Regions from separate parts of the Homo sapiens genome. Here all the other regions are linked to region 4. The links are contacts of gene promoters, found by promoter capture Hi-C in blood cells and fetal thymus (Javierre and others, 2016). All regions are on one chromosome and are shown on one strand. The core of a region is centred on a gene start or on the middle of the fragment in contact, and the rest is flanking DNA. Distances in the headings are between cores, read along the strand shown. Region 1 overlaps ZC3HC1 (zinc finger C3HC-type containing 1). Region 2 overlaps KLHDC10 (kelch domain containing 10). Region 3 holds the start of LINC03008 (long intergenic non-protein coding RNA 3008). Region 4 holds the start of KLF14 (KLF transcription factor 14). Region 5 overlaps ZC3HC1 (zinc finger C3HC-type containing 1). Region 6 overlaps KLHDC10 (kelch domain containing 10). Region 7 overlaps KLHDC10 (kelch domain containing 10).

What was found. The method cuts DNA at HindIII sites, captures the fragments that hold promoters and counts their contacts. A CHiCAGO score of 5 or more calls a contact.
Region 1: a fragment that was not itself captured here is called in contact with the fragment with the promoter of KLF14 in region 4 in 4 of 17 cell types (endothelial precursors, megakaryocytes, M2 macrophages and 1 more); the score reaches 11.5 in endothelial precursors.
Region 2: a fragment that was not itself captured here is called in contact with the fragment with the promoter of KLF14 in region 4 in 12 of 17 cell types (megakaryocytes, endothelial precursors, erythroblasts and 9 more); the score reaches 11.4 in megakaryocytes.
Region 3: a contact is called between a fragment that was not itself captured here and the fragment with the promoter of KLF14 in region 4, in 4 of 17 cell types (megakaryocytes, erythroblasts, fetal thymus and 1 more). The highest score is 10.4, in megakaryocytes.
Region 5: a fragment that was not itself captured here is called in contact with the fragment with the promoter of KLF14 in region 4 in 1 of 17 cell types (M2 macrophages); the score reaches 7.3 in M2 macrophages.
Region 6: a fragment that was not itself captured here is called in contact with the fragment with the promoter of KLF14 in region 4 in 16 of 17 cell types (megakaryocytes, naive B cells, total B cells and 13 more); the score reaches 34.9 in megakaryocytes.
Region 7: a contact is called between a fragment that was not itself captured here and the fragment with the promoter of KLF14 in region 4, in 13 of 17 cell types (megakaryocytes, endothelial precursors, M1 macrophages and 10 more). The highest score is 13.7, in megakaryocytes.

The regions. Positions count from the first base shown.
Region 1 is chr7:130,027,270-130,030,402 of GRCh38, reverse strand. ZC3HC1 (zinc finger C3HC-type containing 1) reads left to right here. Exons shown (of 10, transcript NM_016478.5): 5 at 1,374-1,501. It also overlaps the pseudogene RNA5SP245. Among named protein-coding and RNA genes, the nearest start is that of ZC3HC1, 23 kb to the left of the region's middle. The HindIII fragment of the contact is 2,476 bases long and covers 486-2,961 here.
Region 2 is chr7:130,104,054-130,107,140 of GRCh38, reverse strand. All of the region lies in intron 2 of KLHDC10 (kelch domain containing 10), which reads right to left. Among named protein-coding and RNA genes, the nearest start is that of KLHDC10, 35 kb to the right of the region's middle. The HindIII fragment of the contact is 1,716 bases long and covers 744-2,459 here.
Region 3 is chr7:130,139,458-130,142,408 of GRCh38, reverse strand. LINC03008 (long intergenic non-protein coding RNA 3008) reads right to left here and starts at 678. Exons shown (of 2, transcript NR_149034.1): 1 at 637-678; 2 at 1-150. RefSeq lists enhancers at 117-780, 969-1,108, 1,289-1,368, 781-1,444. The HindIII fragment of the contact is 784 bases long and covers 1,093-1,876 here.
Region 4 is chr7:130,732,370-130,735,591 of GRCh38, reverse strand. It overlaps KLF14 (KLF transcription factor 14), which reads left to right and starts at 1,385. Exons shown (of 1, transcript NM_138693.4): 1 at 1,385-3,222. The coding sequence starts at 1,559. The coding sequence ends at 2,530. LOC105375508 (a long non-coding RNA gene) reads right to left here and starts at 1,328. Exons shown (of 4, transcript XR_927978.3): 1 at 1,210-1,328. RefSeq lists silencers at 1,572-1,651, 1,722-1,881 and an enhancer at 1,777-2,314. The HindIII fragment of the contact is 4,510 bases long and covers 333-3,222 here.
Region 5 is chr7:130,043,302-130,046,655 of GRCh38, reverse strand. All of the region lies in intron 2 of ZC3HC1 (zinc finger C3HC-type containing 1), which reads left to right. Among named protein-coding and RNA genes, the nearest start is that of ZC3HC1, 6.4 kb to the left of the region's middle. The HindIII fragment of the contact is 8,261 bases long and covers 1-3,354 here.
Region 6 is chr7:130,071,539-130,074,487 of GRCh38, reverse strand. All of the region lies in intron 1 of KLHDC10 (kelch domain containing 10), which reads right to left. Among named protein-coding and RNA genes, the nearest start is that of KLHDC10, 2.5 kb to the right of the region's middle. The HindIII fragment of the contact is 2,507 bases long and covers 291-2,797 here.
Region 7 is chr7:130,121,113-130,124,230 of GRCh38, reverse strand. KLHDC10 (kelch domain containing 10) reads right to left here. Exons shown (of 10, transcript NM_014997.4): 5 at 2,029-2,177. Among named protein-coding and RNA genes, the nearest start is that of LINC03008, 19 kb to the left of the region's middle. The HindIII fragment of the contact is 1,127 bases long and covers 1,256-2,382 here.

The DNA.
Region 1 (3,133 bases), core at 474-2,973, 710 kb after region 4:
CATGATGAAACCCTGTCTTTATTAAAAATAGAAAAATTAACCAGGTGTGGTGTCAGGCACCTGTAATCCCGGCTACTCAGGAGGCTGAGGCAGGAGAATTGCTTGAACCTGGGAGGCAGAGGTTGCAGTGAGCCGTGATCGCACCATTGCACTGCAGCCTGGGCGACAGAGCAAAAACTCTGTCTCGGAAAAAAAAAAAAAAAAAAAGGCTGATTCAGTGTAGCTTCTACTTCATTCTAGGCCTACTAGACTGACCTCTTTAGGAAGTAGCTTAGCAAGGCCTTTCTGCACTCATCATTTGCCTTTGTACCAGTGTACCAAGTATGCAGTAGATGAATTGGGTAATGCCAGAGATAATTATACTATAGTATATAATCAGTTTCCACACTGCTTAGATTTCAGGCAGATTCCTTCTTTTCCAACTTAGGTATTACCAGTAGAATTCCTAATTGTATACTTTATTTACTCTGGTACCCAGTTAAGCTTCACCTTACAATGCAAGCCTTTTTGTATCTCTTGTGTAGACTTTAGGAACATGCCATTTTTTTCATTCTTAGCTCACAGTAAGTTATAACTTGGTAGTTATAAAATGATGGTTCTTTAAGACTTTTCACCTATTTAAGCATCCATCTCCACTAACTCTGTTCTGTTTTCTCTTTCTTAAGGTAACAATTTCACACATATATAGAAGTACACGGAATAGTATAAATAATGAAACCCCATCACTCAACTTCAACAATGATCAACTCATGGCCGATCTTGTTTCTTCTATATTCCTAACACCTAACACCCTGCCCCTCTGCATTGTTTTGAAGTTCAGTCCCACATATGCCATTTTATCTAAATATTTCAAAATATAAAAAATATGGATTCTACTTTTTAAACATGGTCTCAGTAGTATCATTACAGCCCCATCAAAATGAAAAACAATAATTTCCTGACACCATCAAATAGCTCATCAATTTTACTATATTTCCTCAATCATTCAATATGTGTTTTTTATTTATTTTATTTTATTATTATTTTTTGAGACAGAGTCTCTCTCTGTTGCCCAGGCTGGAGCACAGTGGCACGATCTCAGCCTCATTGCAACCTCTGCCTCCTGGGTTCAAGTGATTCTCCTGTCTTAGCCTCCCGAGTAGCTGGGATTACAGGCACGCGCCACCATGCCTGGCTAATTTTTTGTATTAAAGGAGGCTGAGACAGGGGTTTCTAGGTTGGCTAGGTTGGTCTTGAACTCCTGACCTCAGGTGATCCGCCCGCCTCGGCCTTCCAAAGTGCTGGGATTACAGGTATGAGCCACCATGCCCAGCCGTGTTTTTTATTTTTTACAGTTTACACCAATATAATCTTCCAATTTACTTTTTCCACAGACCGATTTGGGATGTTGCCCCTGGATGAGCCTGCTATTCTTGTTAGTGAATTCCTAGATCGTTTTCAAAGCCTTTGTCACTTGGACCTCCAGCTTCCTTCCCTAAGGCCGGAGGACTTGAAAACTATGGTGAGTTTTTCCTGACTAGGCTGCAATGGCCTCCAGTTGTTGCCAGCATTTATACCTGAAGCATTTCTTTTAATGACAAGAAGATGCAATTGCTGTGAAGAGAACTGCTTGTCTGTCTCTCATCTGACCTTTTCAGTCTCCACCAGGAAGGTGACAGTTGAGAGTTCCATTTGAATGTTTAGGTATGTTTTTTTAAATGGCATAGATTCAATTTAACATATATGTATATAAGCAGTTTATTTGGGCCAAGTTTTAGGGCTGTAACCTGGAAGCATAGATTCAAGTTTGCCCTGAATATATGCTTCCCATAAATTCAGTTTTATCTTGATTTATTACTTAAATTATTATTATTATTATTTTGAGACCGAGTCTCTTTCTGTCACCCAGGCTGGAGTGCAATAGTGTAATCTCGGCTCACTGCAACCTCCACCTCCCAGGTCCACGCAATTCTCCTGCCTCAGCCTCCTGAGTAGCTAGGATTACAGGCGTCTGCCACCACACCTGGCTAATTTTTGTATTTTTAGTAGAGACGGGGTTTCACCATATTGGTCAGGCCGTTCTCAAACTCCTGACCTCAGGTGATCCACCTGCCTCGGCCTCCCAAAGTGCTGGGATTACAGGCATGAGCCGGCACACCCAGCCTACTTAAACTATTTAACAGAAAATACTGAAATGTGACTGCATATGGTTTATTGCATATCTTTTTTTTTTTTTTTTTTTTTTTTTTTTTTTTTTTTTGAGACAGAGTCTTGTTCTGTCGCCAGGCTGTAGTACAGTGGTGATCTTGGCTCACTGCAACCTCCGCCTCCTGGGTTCAAGCGATTCTTCTGTCTCAGCCTCCCAAGTAGCTGGGATTACAGGCACGTGCGACCACGCCTAGCTAATTTTTGTAATTTTAGTAGAGACAGGGTTTCACTGTGTTGGGCAGGATGTTCTAGATCTCCTGACCTCGTGATCCGCCCACCTCGGCCTCCCAAAGTGCTGGGATTACAGATGTGAGCCACCACACCCGGCCATCATTTTTCAAAGAAAGTAACAAACTCCTTTCTCCTTGTGAGTAGAAATGTTTAAATGCTGTAGTCAGCCCGGGCACAGTGGCTCATGCCTGTAATCCCGGCACTTTGGGAGGCTGAGGTGGGTAGATCACCTGAGGTCAGGAGTTCGAGACCAGCCTGGCCAACATGGTGAAACCCCGTCTCTATTAAAAATACAAAAAATTAGCCGGACATGGTAGTTTATGCCTGTAGTCCCAGCTACCTGGGAGGCTGAGGCAGGAGAATTGCTTGAACCTGGGAGACAGGTTGCAGTGAGCCGAGATCGCACCATTGCACTCCAGCCTGGGCAACAAGAGCGAAACTCCATCTCAAAAATAAAATAAATGCTCTAGTCAATCTGTACTTTGAAACTGAATATTTACTGTTCCATTTAATCACCCTATGGGTACTCCATGAAGACAAGCTTTACTGTAGGAAATAGTAGCCTCTTCAAATTAAGAGAGTGGTATGGGTTTTAGCATCAAACTGTTAACCTCCCAAAGTCCCCTCCAAGTACTAACCAGGCCTGACCCTGCTTAGCTTCCGAGATGAGATGAGACTGGACGCGTTCAGGGTGGTATGGCCATAGACTGAAACT
Region 2 (3,087 bases), core at 352-2,851, 630 kb after region 4:
ATTATGTTTGCTATTGGTTTCTTATCAATAAATGATACATCATATATGATATTTACTACTGGTTTCTTATAGTATTCTGTCATAAAATAAATCTTCTTTTATCCCTGGATGCGTAAGAATGTTTTCCCTTACCAGGAATGGATGTGGGGTTTATTTGTTTATTTATTTTTGAGACAGGGTCTTGCTCTATTGCCCAGGCTGGAACGTAGCAGTGTAATCACTGCTCACTGCAGCCTTGACCTCCCAGGTTCAAGCAATCCTCTCATCTCAGCCTCCCAAGTAGCTGGGACCACAGGTGTGTGCCACCACGCCCGGCTAATTTTTGAATTTTTTCTTAGAGACAGAGTGTTGCCCAGGCTGGTCTCCAACTCTTGGGCTCAAGAGATCCTCCCACCTCAGCCTCCCAAAGCGCTGGGATTACAGGCATGAGCCACTGTGCGCCCAACACAAAGTTTGTATTCAAATGTAACATACAGAAAAGCATATATGTCATAAGGGTACTGGATGCATTGTAACAAAATGAACACATTAAATATCAAATTTTATTAAATGTTTTATTTAATACAGCAAAGTCACAATTTTTCTTTAAGCCTATTAAAATAGTAAACTAAATACATTCCACAGATAAGGTCCATTTGATCTTGATTTCTTATTTAGATTTGTCCCTGCAATCTTATGTATTTTTTATTTACCGCTCTTTCTCGCTTTATTTTCCCACTTTTCTGATTTTATTGAAATAAGCTTTCTTTTTTCCCCTACAAAGATCTGTATCTTATTACCCCTAACACTTGCTGAAAAACAAACTTTTATTTTTTAACACTCTTCAGAAAGAACCACATCTGGAAAGACTCGCCTGTTAATGGTGGTTGAGTGAAGATGTGAGGCAGGATCTTTGCTTTTTAAATTTAACTCCTTTTATTGTTAAATATGGCATGCATTAGAATTTACATAAATATAAATGTACAGATTATTATTTATTTTATTTATTTATTTTGAGACGGAGTTTTGCTCTTGTTGCCCAGGCTGGAGTGCAACGGCGTGATCTTGGCTCACTGCCTCCGCCTCCCAGGTTCAAGCGATTCTCCTGTCTCAGTCTCCCGAGTAGCCAGGATTACAGGCATGCACCACCATGCCCAGCTAATTTTGTATTTTTAGTAGAGGTAGGATTTCACCATGTTGGTCAGGCTACTCTCAAACTCCTGAACTCAGGTGATCCACCCACCTTGGCTTCCCAAAGTGCTGGGATTACAGGCGTGAGCCACCGCGCCCGGCCTTAAATGTACAAATTATTAAAAAGAGAACACGTAACCACCATCCAGCTCAAGAAACACAATACTGCATAAAGTGCTTAATAAATTATTAAAATAGGAACATATAACCATCACCCAGGTCAAGAAACAGAATACAGCCAGCACCCAGAAACCCTTTGACTGCCCATCTTGATCACACCCTCCAACCTCCCTTCACTTCTAGAGTATCCTACTTCCTGATTTTTAGGGCAATCATAAAAATCTGTTGTCTTTTTATAGCTTTATTATACCTAGGTATGCATCTCTAAACAATACTGTTTATTTTGGCCTAGTTTTAAAGTGTATTTGAATAGAATAATATATGTAGAATAATATAGTATATTTTCTTTCTGGGCTCTTTTATTCACAATTATGTTTTTGAGATTCATCCCTGTTCTAGGGGAAAAGAAGTGGTCTGTTCATTTCCCTTGCCAAATATTATTTATTTGTATGAATATATGTCACAATTTATTTATCCAGTCTAAGTTGCGTGAAGAGGCATTTTGGGTTGTTTCAAATTTGTGGTTCTTAATGTTGCTACAAACATTTTTGCACATGTTGCAAGTGCACAGGGGCTCACATTTCTGTTGGCTATAAATGTAAACATGGAATTTCTGAATCTTAATGTATGTAAATCTTCACCTTCGTTTGGTAAAGCCAAAATGTTTTCAAAATGGTTGTACCACTTTACATATCCAAGGGCAGCATGTGAGAATTCCTGTTGTTCCATATCCTTGCCAATACTTGGTATTGCCACTGTCAGTCTTTTTAATGTAGCAATTCCTGTGAGTTTGTAGAGCTCTCGTGGTTTTACTATTCATTTCTCTCATTGCAATGAGGGTGAGCGCCTTTTCATGTTTATTGGCCATTTGAATTTTTCTTTTGGGAAATGCCTGCTGATATGGTTTGGATCTGTGTCCCCGCCCAAATCTCATGTTCAATTGTAATCCCCAGTGTTGGAGATGGGGCATGGTGGGAGGTGACTGGATCACGGGGACGAAGTTCTCATGAATGCTTTAGCACCATACCTCCTTGGTACTGTATAGTGATGAGTTCTCACAAGATCTGGTTGTTTAAAAGTGCATAGCACCTCCCCTCAACTCCTCTTGGTCCTGCTCCTGCCATGTAAGACACCTGCTCCCACTCTGCCTCTTGCCATGAGTAAAAGCTTTCTGAGGCCTCTCCAGAAGCAGATGCTACCATGCTTCCTATACAGCCTGCAGAACCGTGAGTCAATTAAACCTCTTCTTTATAAAGTACCCAGTCTCAGGTATTTATTTATACCAGTGCAAGAACAGATTAAGAACACCTGCTTAAGCCTCTTACATACATTCTCTCATTGAACTGTCTTTTTTGAAATTGATTTGTAGAAATGTTATATATGCTTGCAGTAAGGATCCTGACTTTTCCCCCTATGTATTTCTGTATTATTTGAATTTTTCTTTTAGTAAGTAGATAATACTACACCTGTAAATTTTAAAACAAAAAATTCTAGGACCTTTAGTACAACTCTCAATTTAATTTTAGTTACAGAATGTTATACAGTTGACCCTTGAACAAAATGAATTTGAACTGCACAAGTCTATTTATATGCAGATTTTCCTCTGCCTCTGCCACTCCTGAGACAGCAAGCCCAACTCCTCCTTTTCCTCTTCCTCCTCAGCTTTCTCAATGTAAAGACAGTAAGGATGAAGACCTTTATGATGATCCACTTCCACTTAATGAATGGTAAGTGTATTTTATTTTTCTTATAATTTTTTTTTTGAGATGGAGTCTTGCTCTGTTGCCCAGGCTGGAG
Region 3 (2,951 bases), core at 235-2,734, 590 kb after region 4:
GCCCTAGAATCCCATGCAGGAGTGACTCTGCTGTCCCATCACACTCACAGCTGCAGCAAGGATGCCTTTCCAGCAGTCACACTCCCACGCAGGGGTCAGCCTTCCTCCCAGGGGGAGCAGGGTGGAGCGGGAGCTGGTCCTCCCAGCATACTGCAGGCGGACAACAGTGGCCTGTTTCAGGTGACACCTGTCTTTGGGCCCAGGTCCCACTTCTGTGGTTGTCCCCAGGCTGAGCTGCCCCCTGGAAGGGTTTTCTGGAAAGGACCAGAGAGGTGTGGATTTCGGAATCTCTGAGAGCTCTGGCACCTCTGTTTTCTGCTCCCTGGGTTGAGTGGCCAGAAGAGCCTGTGTGCTTGCATTTTCGGTATGACCCCTGGCCCTTATGTGTCTCTGTGTCCCCAGGCCCCTGCTCAATTCTCCACTTCACCGAGGGTGCCTGACCCCTCTCCTTTTCCCTCCATCCCCCCACTTCTGAACGCACCCCACCGTGTGCATGGGAGGGTCCTTCCTCCCTGTGGCTTTTCCGGGGAGCCTTTTCTTCTCCCTGAAGTCACCCCCGCATATCCCGGAGAGCCACAGCGCCTATCCCCTGGGTTGCCATGGAAACAGCCTTCTTTCCTCTTCCCTCCTGTTTACCTTGGTCAGGGACTGCGGCAAAAACCAGCCCGTCGCTGGAGGAGAGGGAGAGCAGTGGGCGGGGGAGCAGGGAGGGAGCCAACCCGCTCCAAACCAGATCATTCCGGTTCAGAGCGGCTTCCCCTCCGGTCCTAGGAGCCTCTCCGACAAGGCGCGCTGGGCTGCGCAGGGAGGCCCTGGGCCGAGCTGGCCTTAGTGGGGAGGGCCTGAGCCCACCCTGGCCAGCACCCCCTCCCCAGTTCCGTCCGGCCTCCATGCGTCCCTCCTGCCAGTGCTGGCGCAGCGGGGCCTGGGGCGCTGTCCCTGATTGCTGGCTGTTCCCCGCACAGGGGCGCCCTGCTGGGGCGGGGGTGATGGGAGCAGAAGTGTCTCGGCCCCAAAGGTGCTTTCGCCCTCCTGGGACCCCCGGGCACTCTCCTGCGACAGGGATGCTCTGTGTGGCTCTGGCTTAAAGCTTCCCGCTGCGTTTAGAGAAGCCAAACCCTTCGTCCCAGCCCCGGGATAGGTGCGGGGCCGCCTCTTCGCGGGGATTCCCCTGGCTCCCACCGCAAGGCTTCTTCCCCTTGCAGAAGACACCAGAAGCTGGGTTTTGTCCCTGCCCCGAACACTCTGGTCACACTTTCTAGCTCCCCGTGCACACCGGGCGGGAGGCTTTCCTTGTTTCTACGCCACACAGCTCCTATTCCCCCTCCATGGGCCACTGTGGTCATCTTGCTCGTTTGCTGTGGTCTGATCGATCGCCTCCTCCCCAATGGAAACTTCCCGAAGGCAGGGCCCGCTCACGCAGCACCCCAGCACCAATGGCACGTGCCAGATGTTCGGTGAGCGACGGTGGCCTCGAGGATGGGACGCGCGGCGGCGCCGGGCTGCGGGGGCCACCTCCCGGCCGAGTCCCCTCCCCGCTAGCGGGCGGCAGCTTCTTAGTCGTCTGGGTGTACAGACTGAAATCCACGGCTCTTCCTCCCCAGCCATGTGCGCTGCAGGCGGCAAGTCCATGGCCAGCGGGCGGGTAGCCCAGCGCACCGGGCCTTGGGGAGCCGCCCGCAGCACGGACCGCCCTGGCCCCTGGCTTCACCGCCCCTGCGCGGCTGCTCCCAACCCAGAATCCCGGGAAGCCAGGGGTGACTTCACGTCCCCGAAAGCCCTTCTGAAAGAATTTTCTCAGTAACTATCCAGGCCCATGTGCCTGCCGCCGGGTCCCAGGAGGATGAAAGTTCTCATGAACGCGACCTTGCAAGCTTGCAGACTTGGACTCCCTTCTCTGGCCCTTGGCAAATCACTGAATTTGTCTTGTCTTGGCCTGCCAATCTGTGAAACGGGGATAAAACTTCTAGGCCTGCGATTCAATACAGGCTTGCCGAGGAGAAAATGAACTGAAAATGCTTGGCTGACATGGCAGGGGCTGCAGAGGCTGGGCTCTGGGTTAGTGTGTGTGTTTGGGGTCCGGGGTTAGATCCAGTGTAAAGCTGGAGTTCTCGTCCTGGATGCCCTAGTATGCAAGTAGCTCTGAGACACCCCTGTGCCTATTGTTCTTATAAACCGCGTCTTTGTGGGCAGCAAGCCTGTGCAGTGCAGGGTGAGCCCAGGCAGAGGCCGACATCCCGAACCATGACCTGATCTTAGCTGTTTCAGGGTGAGGTTTGGGTAGTAAATAACCCAGGTGCAGGAGATGCCTGGATGGCCTGGATGTATTTTTCTGGGGCTGGGAGAGTAACAAAGTTTGCTCCCTGACAGTGGGGTGGGGATTTTGAACACATCCTAGGCAGTCATGGTGAGAGCCTCCTCCACTCCCAGAACCTTGCGGTTCTAAGTGGCAGGTTCAAGGAGGATAAACTGACCAGTCTGACTCCTCTAAGGTGACACAGGCTGCATGGCAGCTGCTTTCTCTTTTCATGGATGTCATCTGCAATACTCTAAAGCTCCTGGCCTGCTGTGGGGCCCCCAAATAGTAAGTGGCCAGAGCTCCCAGCTGTCTCTGCCTTCTCTTCCCAAGTCCTGGAGCTGGGCTGTGGTGGCTCCTGACCTCCCTGAGTGGTGTTTGGCACCTACCTTCCTGCATGGGCTGCTGAGCTCCCCTGCTGAGCTGTCTGCTGGAGAATCTGAGAAGCCTCTTGCTTTTGCATTTGAGGCTGCAAGGCCAGTGTAGGGTGAGCAGATTGGCTGGGTTGGCTTTGTATGTCACTCAAAACTACCTCCTCTCACCTGGCTGTGGATGAAAGAAAAAACCTCTGCTCTACAATAATGTTCTTGCTTGATTTTATGAATGGACAGGATGGTAAGGAATAGGCTTTGGGCAACAGGATAAAATCACAGCT
Region 4 (3,222 bases), core at 136-2,635:
ATATACATATATTTACATGTATAATTAGGTAATACGGGTATCAAAACAAATGCAGATTAAATAGCCACTTTATAATACTAATTACCTAGAAAAGTGAAGAGGGAGAAAGGTGAATGGAACTGGGGAGGGAAACAAAGTGACATTCAACTCTATCTGTAATGTTTAATATAAATAAAAACATGAAACAACTATAACAAAAATTTCACATTTGATTACCCTAGGCAGTAAATACATGAACGTATGTTATTCTTGATACATACGTATTAATTTTCAAAAGAAAAAGTACTGAAGAACTACAAATAAAATGCACACAATTCACTCATATAAAAGCTTGTATACATCAAAAACTAAGATATGACTATTTTTAGAAATTATCCTGTTTGTTTTTCTATGTAGTTTTACATTTTTAAAAAGAAAAACGAGGGAAAAAATGAGAGCAATGAAGACACGTAAAAGAAACCGTACATGCATTTGATTATAAAAAAGGCAAACCTCCACAATCACAAAACACCATATGAGCATTCTATATCATGTGCTGCATTTCCTTACATTTAACTTTCGTCAAAAGCAAATTACAAGATAATGCCTAATTGGAAACGTGACTTTCTATTATTAAAATGGTGGGAGTCCATTTTAATGTGTTTATCTCGCCGCTAGACTATAATTTATATCTCAGCGTTTAAATTTGTTTGGATGCCAGTGACAGGTTAATGCAGTTTAAACATGCATTTTTCTTTCGTTGGCTGAATAGTTAAATCGTTACTCAAAGGATTTTAAGTTTCAATTTCAACCGGGAGAGGATTCTTTGCTTTTCCAAGGTTAAAACTGTTTCTGGTTCGAGATGCTATTAATTAATGGCTACGTAGCGGATCTATTTAGGGAACTGCTCCCGGCCCCGGGTTCACAGTTGACCTGCTCAATGAGAAAACTTTTTTTGCTACAGACTTGGGGATATTTGCAATTTAGTCTGAGAGCGGCGAACGGGGAGTGAAATGGAATTCGAGACCACTTCGCTAACAATCGCAATTATGAACCGAAAGACATGTCAGGTATTAGCAATTTTTTTCCTTAAAAAAAAAAAAAACTTTCTGGGACTCCGCGGGACACCCAGCTGGCGACGGACCAGCGGGCGGCGGGCTGCGGGGAGGGGGGGCGAGGCTGCTGCAACCCAGAAGTTCCGACTGGGGAGTTTCGCTCTGTTACCATTACCTGGCTCGCCGGCAGAAGAAAGAACGCGGAGACAAGATAATTTCTGAGGCTGTTAAACATGACTTAGCCGGGGGCCGCGCGTTCCGAGGGGGTGTCCTGCGGGCCGGGGCGGGTCTCTGCCGCCCCCGCGGGCTCCGGTGCGTCAGGGGCGCGTCAGGCGGGGCGGGCTCCGCGCGGGCGGCGGCGGCAGCGGCGGCTGCGGCGGCGGCGGCGGCAGCAGGCGGCAGGCGGCGAGCACCCGGCCTCCTGCTTCTCGCTCCGAGGCTGCGGGACGGACGCTCCCGGGAACTCCGTCGCCCGCGGCCGGCCGCGTTCGGACGGCGCTCGCCGGCGGCCGGGCGGTCCCAGCATGTCGGCCGCCGTGGCGTGCCTGGACTACTTCGCCGCCGAGTGCCTGGTGTCCATGTCCGCGGGCGCCGTGGTTCACCGCCGCCCGCCGGACCCCGAGGGCGCGGGTGGAGCCGCTGGCTCGGAGGTGGGTGCGGCGCCGCCGGAGTCCGCTCTGCCGGGTCCGGGGCCACCGGGGCCCGCGTCGGTCCCCCAGCTCCCGCAGGTCCCCGCCCCCAGCCCCGGCGCGGGCGGCGCCGCGCCCCACCTGCTGGCTGCAAGCGTCTGGGCGGACTTGCGCGGCAGCTCTGGCGAGGGCTCCTGGGAGAACTCGGGGGAAGCTCCACGCGCCTCGTCCGGCTTCTCCGACCCGATCCCGTGCTCCGTCCAGACCCCGTGCTCCGAGCTGGCTCCCGCCTCCGGCGCCGCGGCGGTCTGCGCTCCCGAGAGCTCCTCCGATGCGCCCGCCGTCCCAAGCGCGCCTGCTGCCCCGGGCGCACCAGCAGCCTCTGGTGGGTTCTCTGGAGGGGCCCTAGGGGCAGGCCCCGCCCCCGCCGCGGATCAGGCGCCCCGGAGGAGGTCTGTCACACCTGCTGCCAAGCGCCACCAATGCCCCTTCCCGGGCTGCACCAAAGCCTATTACAAGTCGTCGCACCTCAAGTCCCACCAGCGCACCCACACGGGTGAGCGCCCTTTCTCCTGCGACTGGCTCGACTGCGACAAGAAGTTTACGCGTTCCGACGAGCTGGCCCGCCACTACAGGACGCACACGGGCGAGAAGCGCTTCTCCTGCCCCCTCTGCCCCAAGCAGTTCTCCCGGAGCGACCACCTGACCAAGCATGCTCGCCGCCACCCAACCTATCATCCAGATATGATCGAGTACCGGGGACGTCGTCGAACTCCCCGCATCGACCCGCCACTCACCAGCGAGGTGGAAAGCTCCGCCTCCGGCTCCGGTCCCGGCCCGGCGCCCAGCTTCACCACCTGCCTGTAGGACAGTCATTGCTGTCAGTCTTACCCTCAAGGATGATCCCCCAGGCCGTTGTCCCTGCTTTCTCTCTGCCCATCCTTCTTTCCCAGAGTCATTACACCAAGGCACAGACTGGTTCCTCTGCTCTGAGGGTGGGTCCAGGCAGACATGTGGACTCTGGGGAGGTACTGGGGGCCGGAAAATAGCGGGAATTCTTGCAACGTGTATATCATCCTAAAAGTGGGGGTTGCCTCAAGACAGCCCCCAGGAACTGATAAGAAGGGATGAACTCCCGTACTCTCCAGAGTACTGAAGATTCTCCCCTCCCTGGAACCAGGGATGTGAAACTGGAATTCTCAGATGCCTGAGGAGCTCCCAGTCTCAAAGGACTCTGGTGTCTCACCCATCCACCAGGGCGGACCTTGGAGAGGGTGTCAGGGGTGGCAGTCTTGGAAATGTCCAGGACTGGGATGGTGAGAGGCCTTTGGAAACAGAAATGATTTCTATTTCTGTAAACAGCAATGTTTACTAATTTATTTTTAGCATCTTTTAAATAGGGATCCCAGGTTGATGGGAGGCTTATGCCCTCCAATCCCCCAATTGCCCCAGCTACCTCTGCTAGGAGAGGCCACATAAGCTCCATGTAGATGTGTGGCTGGGAGATACTTCTTGATGTCTGGGGTGTGAGTCTGTTTGCAGGTCCTGTTGCATGATTT
Region 5 (3,354 bases), core at 283-2,782, 690 kb after region 4:
TGATCCATTGTTTTGTTTCCTTTTTTCCCTTCAACTTTTTTTTTTTTTTGAGATGGAGTCTCATTCTGTCATCTAGGCTGGAGTACAGTGGTGCCATCTTGGCTCACTGTAACCTCCACCTCCTGGGTTTAAGCAATTCTCCTGCCTCAGCCTCCCAAGTAGCTGAGATTACAGGCGCCCGCCACCATGCCTGGCTAATTTTTTGTATTTTAGTAGAGATGGGGTTTCACTGTGTTGCCCAGGCTGGTCTCAAACTTTTGAGCTCAGGCAATCCTCCTGCCTTGGCCTCCCAAAGTGCCAAGATTACAGGCATGAGCCACCATGCCTGGCCTTTTTTTCTTCAACTTTTATCTTCAGTTCCGGGGTACATGTGTAGGATGTGCGGGTTTGTTACATAGGTAAACGTGTGCCATGGTGGTTTACTGCACAGATCAATCCATTGCCTAGGTATTAAGCCCAGCATCTGTTAGCTATTCCTCCTGATGCTTTCCCTCCCCCAACTCCCACCTCCAACAGGCCCCAGTGTATGTCGTTCCCCTCATGTGTCCATGTGTTCTCATCATTCAGCTCCCACTTATAAGTGAGAACATGTGTTTGGTTTTCTGTTCCTGTGTTAGTTTGCTGAGGATAGTGGCTTCCAGCTTCATCCACATCCCTGCAAAGGACATGATCTCGTTCCTTTTATGGCTGCATAGTATCAAAGAGATTGTGAGCTCAAACATCCATCTTAAGCCGTTGATGTCTTTTTTTTTTTTTTTTTTTTTTGAGATGGAGTCTTACTCTGCCACCCAGGCTGGAGTGCACTGGTGTGATCTTGGCTTACTGCAACCTCTGCCTCCCGGGTTCAAGCGATTCTCCTGCCTCAGCCTCCCAAGTACCTGGGATTACAGGCTCCCACCACCATTCCTGGCTAGTTTTTGTATTTTTAGTTTCACCATGTTGGCCAGGCTGGTCTCAAACTCCTGAAATCAGGTGATCCACCCACCTCAGCCTCCCAAAGTGCTGGGATTACAGGCGTGAGCCACTGCACCTGGCCCAGTTGATGTCTTATAAAGGAAAGTGCAGCAAATGAGATCCAAAGTACAAGTCATCATAATTAGTAATTGCCACTTGTTTTCCACTGAAAATGGCAAATTCTTCTCTGGGCTGTCATTTTGTCTCCTATAGACCATAGAGGTTGTGAAGCTGAGGATACTCTACTCCAACATGGCCAACATGGTACTGATGGGTAGCTCTGTGAAAGGAGCAGAGACTGAAGGCGGAAGAAATGTGGTACCACACCACGTCTTCTGCTTTTCACTACTTTATTCCCTGTGTGCAAGGACAGAAAGACTTACATGGTAATTTTTTACAGTGATTCTTAAAAATTTTTAAATTACAGACTTACAGAAAGGTTGCAGAGATTACAAAGAACCTTTTTTCCCTGAGCTATTTGAAAGTAAGCCACCAAAGTGATGTCTTACTACTCCCAAATATTTCCTACAAACAAGGACTTTGTCCTACATAACCAGAATGCAACCATCAAAATCAGAAAATTGACATTGATAAATTACTACCCTCCAATCCTCAGACCCCAGTTTTTCCATCAGTTATACTAATAACATTCTTTATAGTTGAAGTATCCAGTTGAGAATCACACAGTACATTTAGTTGTCATGTTGCTTTATTCTCCTTTAATCTGGAACATTTCCTCAGTTTTTTCTTGAATTTCATGATCTTGATACTTTTGAAGATTACAGAACAGTTATGTTGTAGAGTGTATGTCAATGACATTTGTTTGATGTTTCTTTGTGATTAGATTCAGGTTATGCAGGAGTGTCGTGAAGCAATGCTGCATTCTCATTGCATCCTGTCAGGTGACACGTGATTTCTATTTATCCCTTTATGGTGATGATCACTTTGATCACTTGATTAAGGGAGTATCTGGCATTTCTATTGTAAAATAACTCTTTCCTCCTTTGTAAATAAAAAGTACTTTGTGGGGAAGTTCTTTGAAACTTTGTAAATATCCCAGTCCTTATCAAACTTTATGTAATTGATTTATTTGTAGTAACATGGACTCAATATTTTCTTTGTTATTCAATGGGTTATAATTCATTACTATCATTATATATTTTGATACTCCAGTTGTTCCTTATTTAGTCAGTGACATCCCCCTCAGGTTGGCTTCTGTGGCCTTTTGACATGTCCCATAACCCATGACCTCTTTATTGCTTTCAGGAACAAGTTGTTCTCGGCTTATCTTGTATTTTTCTTGCCCCATCCCTGGAATCAGCCAATTTTACAAGGATCCTTGGCTGTTTTTCAGTGGAGAATGTTATTTAAAAGCTAAGATCTGAACTGGGCATGGTGGCACACCTGTAATCCCAGCACTTTGGGAGGCCCAGGTGGGAGAATTGCCTGAGCCCAGGAGAGACCAGCCTGGGCAACATAGCAAGATCCTGTCTCTATATAAATGCATGAATGAATGCCAAGATCTGGGTGCAGGGAGAACTCATAGCTAGTGGGATGCCACTGTTCTCAGGCCCTCTCAGAGGAAAAAGCTAGAAAATATATATGTTTATGTACACACACACAGACACACACATTCACATGTATACACACATCTAAATTTACATCCATTTCTCTCTATATTTTAAAAAACGATGAGTTCCTGCTGACATCTCCAGTTGCAATTGTACATCACAGGATTCATTCTAGTTTTCTCCTTTTCCCTATTTTTCCCTCCCATATTCAACACTGTGAAACATAATTTGTTATCCTTAATATATTTACTACTTTGATCAATCCCCTATATGTGCTTAATCTCCCATTTCTGCCATGCTGCCATCCTTTCTTGCATGAATCTCTCGTCACCCCATTTAGGTCCTAGCACTCCACACTTGGCTGCCCGCAAGTGAATGCCTGTTACATACCACTTTGGTTCTGACACCCTGGGCTGAGCTGCCTCTTCGCAGCCTCCTGGCTCTGACATCTTCCTTGTTCACCGCCTAATGGCTTTAAGACTGAATTGCTCAGGAAAGGGAAGGTATTTTAACCATCCTTCTACCATTATTTCTTGCATTAAATCTTGATTTTGATAAAATATTTAGATCCATTTCCTTTTTGTTCATTGGCTATAAATTGATCAACATTTTGGATATGATGATTATTTATTTAACCATTACTTTTATTCTAGATAATCATGGCTCCTTTAATATTTGTATCTGAATTTTGTTTTCCAGTCTTCATTCTTCCTTTGCTGATGTTGGAATGTCTTTCAAATTCCTATATCCCTTTATAAAAATGTATAACTTTCCTGCATCTTCTTTCATATTTTATCCTTTTTTTTTTACTGTGCTTTGTGAAATAAGA
Region 6 (2,949 bases), core at 295-2,794, 660 kb after region 4:
TATGTATATGTATATGGCATATATATACGCATATGTGTGTATATGTATACGCACATACATCTCAAGAGTATCAAATCATGCATATCAAGGAATCACACACAAATGGTAAAGTATGCCCAAGGAGAGCCACATGATGCTATGAGTGTTACAGAGAGAAGAGACCAAGTCAGAAAGTCACGGAAGGCTTCCATGTAAAAAAACATTTTGATCAAACTGAGATCTAATGGAAGAGAAGTTAAAACAAGAGAATGGAATGAGGAGTAAGAAGGTTCTTGGATGACGGAAAAGCTTGTGCAATGGACCTGGGGCAGGAGGAAGCATGATACATCCAAGGGGGCAGAAAAAGATCAATGACCAAGAGAACGTAACACAGGATTAACTGTAGAGTTAGAGAGGAGTCAGACGACACAGTGCCTTTGAGGCCATGTTAAAGATTTTTGCCTTATCCTAAGAGCAATAAAAAGGTTGTGAGCAGGGATGAGAATGTATTTGGGCTTGCAAAAAGACTGGTGTGCTATATGAATTGAAGGGCAAGAGTAGAAGCACGAATACTGCTTAAAAAGCTCCTGCAGGAGACCTAAGTGAGGGATGGTGGCACCGTGGATTGGAGTTATGGCAGGAGTAAAAGAAACGGACTTGGTAAATGATTACACCTGAAGTGCAACGGAGAAGAAAATATTGAGGAGGATGACCAAGTTTCAAGTTTGCATAACTGGATGGATAAAGAAGCTATCACTGAAAGAGAATGAGAACACTCCAGGAAGACCAGGTTGTTTTGTTTGGTTTCATTGGGGGCTGGATGGAGGGTTGAGATGTAAAAAGTAAGAAAAGGTTCTAAGTATCAGTAACTGGAAGTCTTGGTAGAGAAGGATGAAAAATGGAACATGGGGCTGGCTGGGCGCTGTGACTCACGCCTGTAATCCCAGCACTTCGGGAGGCTGAGGCGGAAGGATCACTTGAGGCCAGGAGTTCGAGCCCAGCCTGGCCAACATGGCAAAAACCCATCTCTACCAAAAATACAAAAAATTAGCCGGACGTGGTGGCCCGCACCTCTAATCCAGCTACTTGGCAGACTGAGACAGGAGAATTGCTAGAGTTCGGGAGGCAAAGGTTACAGTAAGCCAAGACTGTGCCACTGCACTCCAGCCTGGGCCACAGAGTGAGGCTCTGTCTCAAAAAAAAAAAAAAAAAAAAGACAAATAGGATTTAGAGGTCAAAAGAGAGAGACAGTGAGCTATACTATAGTTTTTTGTTGTTGTTGTTGTTGTTTTTTAATTTTTAACTTGAGATGTGGTCTTGCTTTGTTGCCCAGGCTGGCCTTGAACTCCTAGGCTCAAGTGATCCTCCCACCTTGGACTTTCAAAGTGCTGGGGTTACAGATGTGAGCCACCACGACCAGCCGCTATAGTACACTCAAAAAAATAAAAAATTTGGCTGGGCGAGGTGGCTCACGCCTGTAATCCCAGCACTTTGGGAGGCTGAGACAGGCAAATCACCTGAGGTCAGGAGTTCAAGACCAGCCTGGCCAACATGATAAAATCCCGTCTCTACTAAAAATACAAAAACTAGCCTGGCGTGGTGGTGGGCGCCTGTAATTTCAGCTACTCAGGAGGCTGAGGCAGGAGAATTGCTTGAGCCTAGGAAGTGGAGTTGCAGTGAGCCGAGATCGCGACACTGCACTCCAGCCTGGAGGACAGAGTGAGACTCCATCTCAATAAATAAATAAATAAATAAATAAATTTAAAATAAAAGGTTTTATCTCCAAGGCCCGTCAACCAAGCCTAGACATCCTATTCCTCCCCATCACCTAAAATCTTTTAAAATCTATCAAAATGCAAGAAAAGGGAGAGGCTTAAAATGCAATACCTAGCAGAATAAAGAATTGGTATGAAAGAATTTCAAACTACATAATACATTGAGGTATCAGATGTGTCCCAATTTTGAGAATGAGTAAAGGAGCAATGAAGTGTCAGTCAAGAGAAAAGGGAAGCAGAAAAAAGAGACTGATGACCCCGCTTTACAAATTTTCACAGTTTAGACACGTTTATCTTTACCTCCGGATAAATGGCTGTTCTTGGTCTTGTGTGCTAAGGGAATGCAGAAATAGCTCTACACTGAAGCCCCTTAGCAGAAATCATGGCTTCCACTGCCATCACGTGGTTGAAGTGAGGAAGTGCACCAAGCAGGTTCTAGGAACCTAGGAATGCCTACTTGAAGCCCATGGTATAATTAATCCGTGATCAAAGACCTAAAGATTGCGGTAGTAGAGGGCAAACTGGTGACAGTGTTTGCTAAGAGATTCATCTTCTAAGCTGCCAATACACAAAAATCTAAGTTTTTATTATTAATTGGGAGTAAGAAAAAAGATTGCTCCTTTTTTCTTTTTCATGTTAAAGATCGTATATTTAGCAATTCTAGGATGCCCAGTCTGATATTAACGTCTCAAACCCAACTTCTGGTATATTATATGACTACTTACAAATGCCTCGATTTAATGCATATAAATGGGGTAATGTACATTTCTAGCACACATCAACAACCTCATCACGAACATAAGCAATTGTCTCATTAAATGTGCTAAATTCCCTTTGTCATCTTCAATTTAATCAAATAATAATTTTTGACTAGAAGTATAAGGTACAGTCTTAAGCACAATTCATAAAAACCAATTCATCATGTTCTCAAAACTCATCAGCTAAACAAATATATCACTAATATAATCAATATTATTCACAAAAAACACGATGAATAATTAACACATCATTCCTGATAGTTCTTTTCATAGTAAAAATAAGCTTGCCCAGTGGGATATTTGACGTTCTCTGCATTATTTAATTCCCTACCTTCCTTCTACTAGATTGAATATTCAATTACAAACATACCTCTTTAAAATTGTCTACACATACATATCCACTTGATTTTATTTTGTTTTCAAAAGCATCTGAACTC
Region 7 (3,118 bases), core at 570-3,069, 610 kb after region 4:
ATTGAGAACTTTTTTGTGTCATTATTTTTTAATCAATTGCATTAAAAATTTATAGATACATTAATATGTACAGAAAATGGCTATTAGGATATCATCCAAAACATTAAACCTGGTTATCTTTGAGTTTAGACTTGGATTTTTATTTTCTTCATTTTGCTAATTTGTATTTTGTAGATTTTTCTATAATCTTTTGTGATAACTTTGTATAAAGGGGAAATTATTACATAGTTTTAAAAAGTGATCTGCCTACATTTAGAGACCTTAGACTATGAGTTTGCAAATTAAGATACTTATTTAGCAGAAAATTATACTACACAGAACTGTGGATATAACATAAAACACCTCAGAACTTTCATCCAGGCAGTCTAGCTAAAAGCTAAAATAATTTATGATATGTCCATAAAATGACTTAAAGAAAGCAACCATGTGAAAATGCTTTGAAAACTTAATCTATTTCCTTCTTTACCTGAAGGCCTTGTTGCTGATAAAATAAACTACATCAAAATCATTCCAGTAAGAGGCCAACTTCCAAGTCCTCTTATGGTAGTTTTACAATGATCAGTCCACTAACAGTCTACAATTAAGATAAATTCTTCCTTAGCACCTATATGCTATTTTGTTTAAAGAGGCAACAAAGAGGCACTGGATTCATCTAAATAGAGTTAATAAAAAATGGTTTACTGTCTTTGCTTTCAAACTGGAGGGGAAAAAAAATCTCTTCAAGTATTTCAGTGAGTTTAATTCTTTTTTTTTTTTTTTCTGAGACGGAGTCTTGCTCTGTCGCCCAGGCTGGAGCGCAATGGCGTGATCTCAGCTCACTGCAACCTCTGCCTCCCGGGTTCAAGCAATTCTCCTGCCTCAGCCTCCCGAGTAGCTGGGATTACAGGTGCCCACCACCACACCCAGCTAACTTTTTTTGTATTTTTAGCAGAGACAGGGTTTCACCATGTTGGCCAGGCTGGTCTCGAACTCCTGACCTCGTGATCCGCCTGCCTCAGCCTCCCAAAGTGCTGGGGTTACAGGCTGCGCCCAGCCACAGTGAGTTTAATTCTATGAAGAGGCAACTGCTATTAGGAAAGAAAAGTGAAAGATATAGATCTGCTACTAGAAGGCAACTAGAGAGAACCATGCGATGTTTGAGTGTTTAACACAGCACTTAAAATGAATGACCTTTCCATCCATCCATCCATCCATCCATCCATCCATCCATCCATACATCCATCTATCATTCATCACCCATCCATCCATGCAAGCTTCCTTCCATCTATCCAATCAACATTCACTGGGCATCACTGTGGGGATGGCCCTGTGCCCTGTATTGAAGATATGTCTGTGAGAGAATGAGCCAAAGAATTCTAATATGCAAGTTAAGAAGGGAAATCAGGCTCAGCTTGGTGGCTCACACCTGTAATCCCAACACTCTGGGAAGCCAAGGGCAGGCAGATCACTTGAGCCTAGGAGTTTGAGAAGCAGCCTGGGCAACACGGTGCGGCCTCATCTGTACAAAAATTTAGCCAGACGTGGTGGCACATGCCTGTATTCCCAGCTACTTGGGCGGAGGGCTGAGATGGGAGAATGCCTTGAGCCCAGGAGGTCAAGATTGCAGTGAGCCATGATTATGTCACTGTACTCCAGCCTAGGTGACAGAGTGAGACCCTTTCTTTAAAAAAAGGGAAATCAAAAAGTAACTGGACGGTAACTGTTTTGCCTGTAATATGAAATTTGGTTATAGTTGTTACCACTGGTTTCTTCTTCAAAGTGTTACTATCTTCCTAATGCAGAGAGACTAAAGTATAAGAGGAAATGACATGGAAAAAAATTCTGTAGTTTAGAAGGAAATATTATTTCCTCACCAGAAGAACTTTTTTTACTATAGACCTTTCTTTACTATTTACCTGAGATCTAACATCCAACAGCCAGTTAGTTATTCTAACTGGGGCCAAAGGGTTTTCTTCATATTGCCAACACTCTGAAAGAGGTCAAATGTTAGCACGAAAGAATAAATATGCTTGAATCCTAGAACCTCACCTCTCTTCTGGTAGATCACAGGATAGGTTGTTTGGTTTCAGTTGTGTCCACTCTCTGGTATTGAGATCTAACTTGTGCAGGTCTGTGCTGTAAATATAGCCGGTTGTACCTCCAAAGACATAAAGGGAGCCATTGATGATGGCCATAGCCTGGATAACAAGGAAAGGTGAATAAGACCGACTTGTTAACACTTGATTAAAGAATGTAAACTTACCAGATACCTCCAAATCAGGTTTTATGAAATTCTCTTGTATTTTAATCTTTTAATGTATCAGACTCTTAAAAGAATAAAGATTTTAGAGAACCCAGAGATTATTTTAAGAACCTGGAAAACACCTTTAGAAAGGTGAAGCTTTACTCAACTGGAAAGGAAGTCCTACCTCCCAAGATGATTCTTAAGGGTCCTGGCTGATCAAATAATTTCTAGCCCATGGGCATAAGCATTTCCATTGAAAGCTGCTTCTCTTTATAAGCAGTCTGAAGAAAAATGCTCTCAAGAAGCAGCAGATATGAAAATAAGCCACCACAATCTGCTAAGTAGAAACCCTAGTTAGCAGTTCAAGGAACCTGATGTTTTCCACTGGACCCTTTTCAATGAAAGTTTCAGCTATTGTTATGGCCACTTCTTAAGTTTAAATGCCTCCTGTGGAAGCAACAAAGTTATCCAGTATGTGCTCCTTTGAAGTTAAGCTCAGAAGCTGTTTATCAGTACTAATGCCAGCGAGTCAAGAAAGAAGTCAAAGCTTGGTTGTTTTAAGCTTAAACTCTCAAAGAGTCTCTGATGTATGGTGGGTTGCTCCCTATCTTTCTGGATATAACTTTTCAGACCTAAGGTTTGAAGCGCTGGAACCTAAACTAATCTCTACATAATGTATGTTTTAGCTCAGATCCATGTAAAAGTTTCTTCACCAAGTGCTTTCTCATCTACTCAAGAATCACTCTAAAAATGACCAGGACCCAGACCATAGTGAAGCCCAATCTCTCACGGGGGGTGAGGGTAGAGGTGGAGGTGGGGTTCTAACATTTAAAGGAACTTCCATACAGGTCTACATCCTGACCTAAATTGAATTAGAAACAGAAAGTGAAAAAA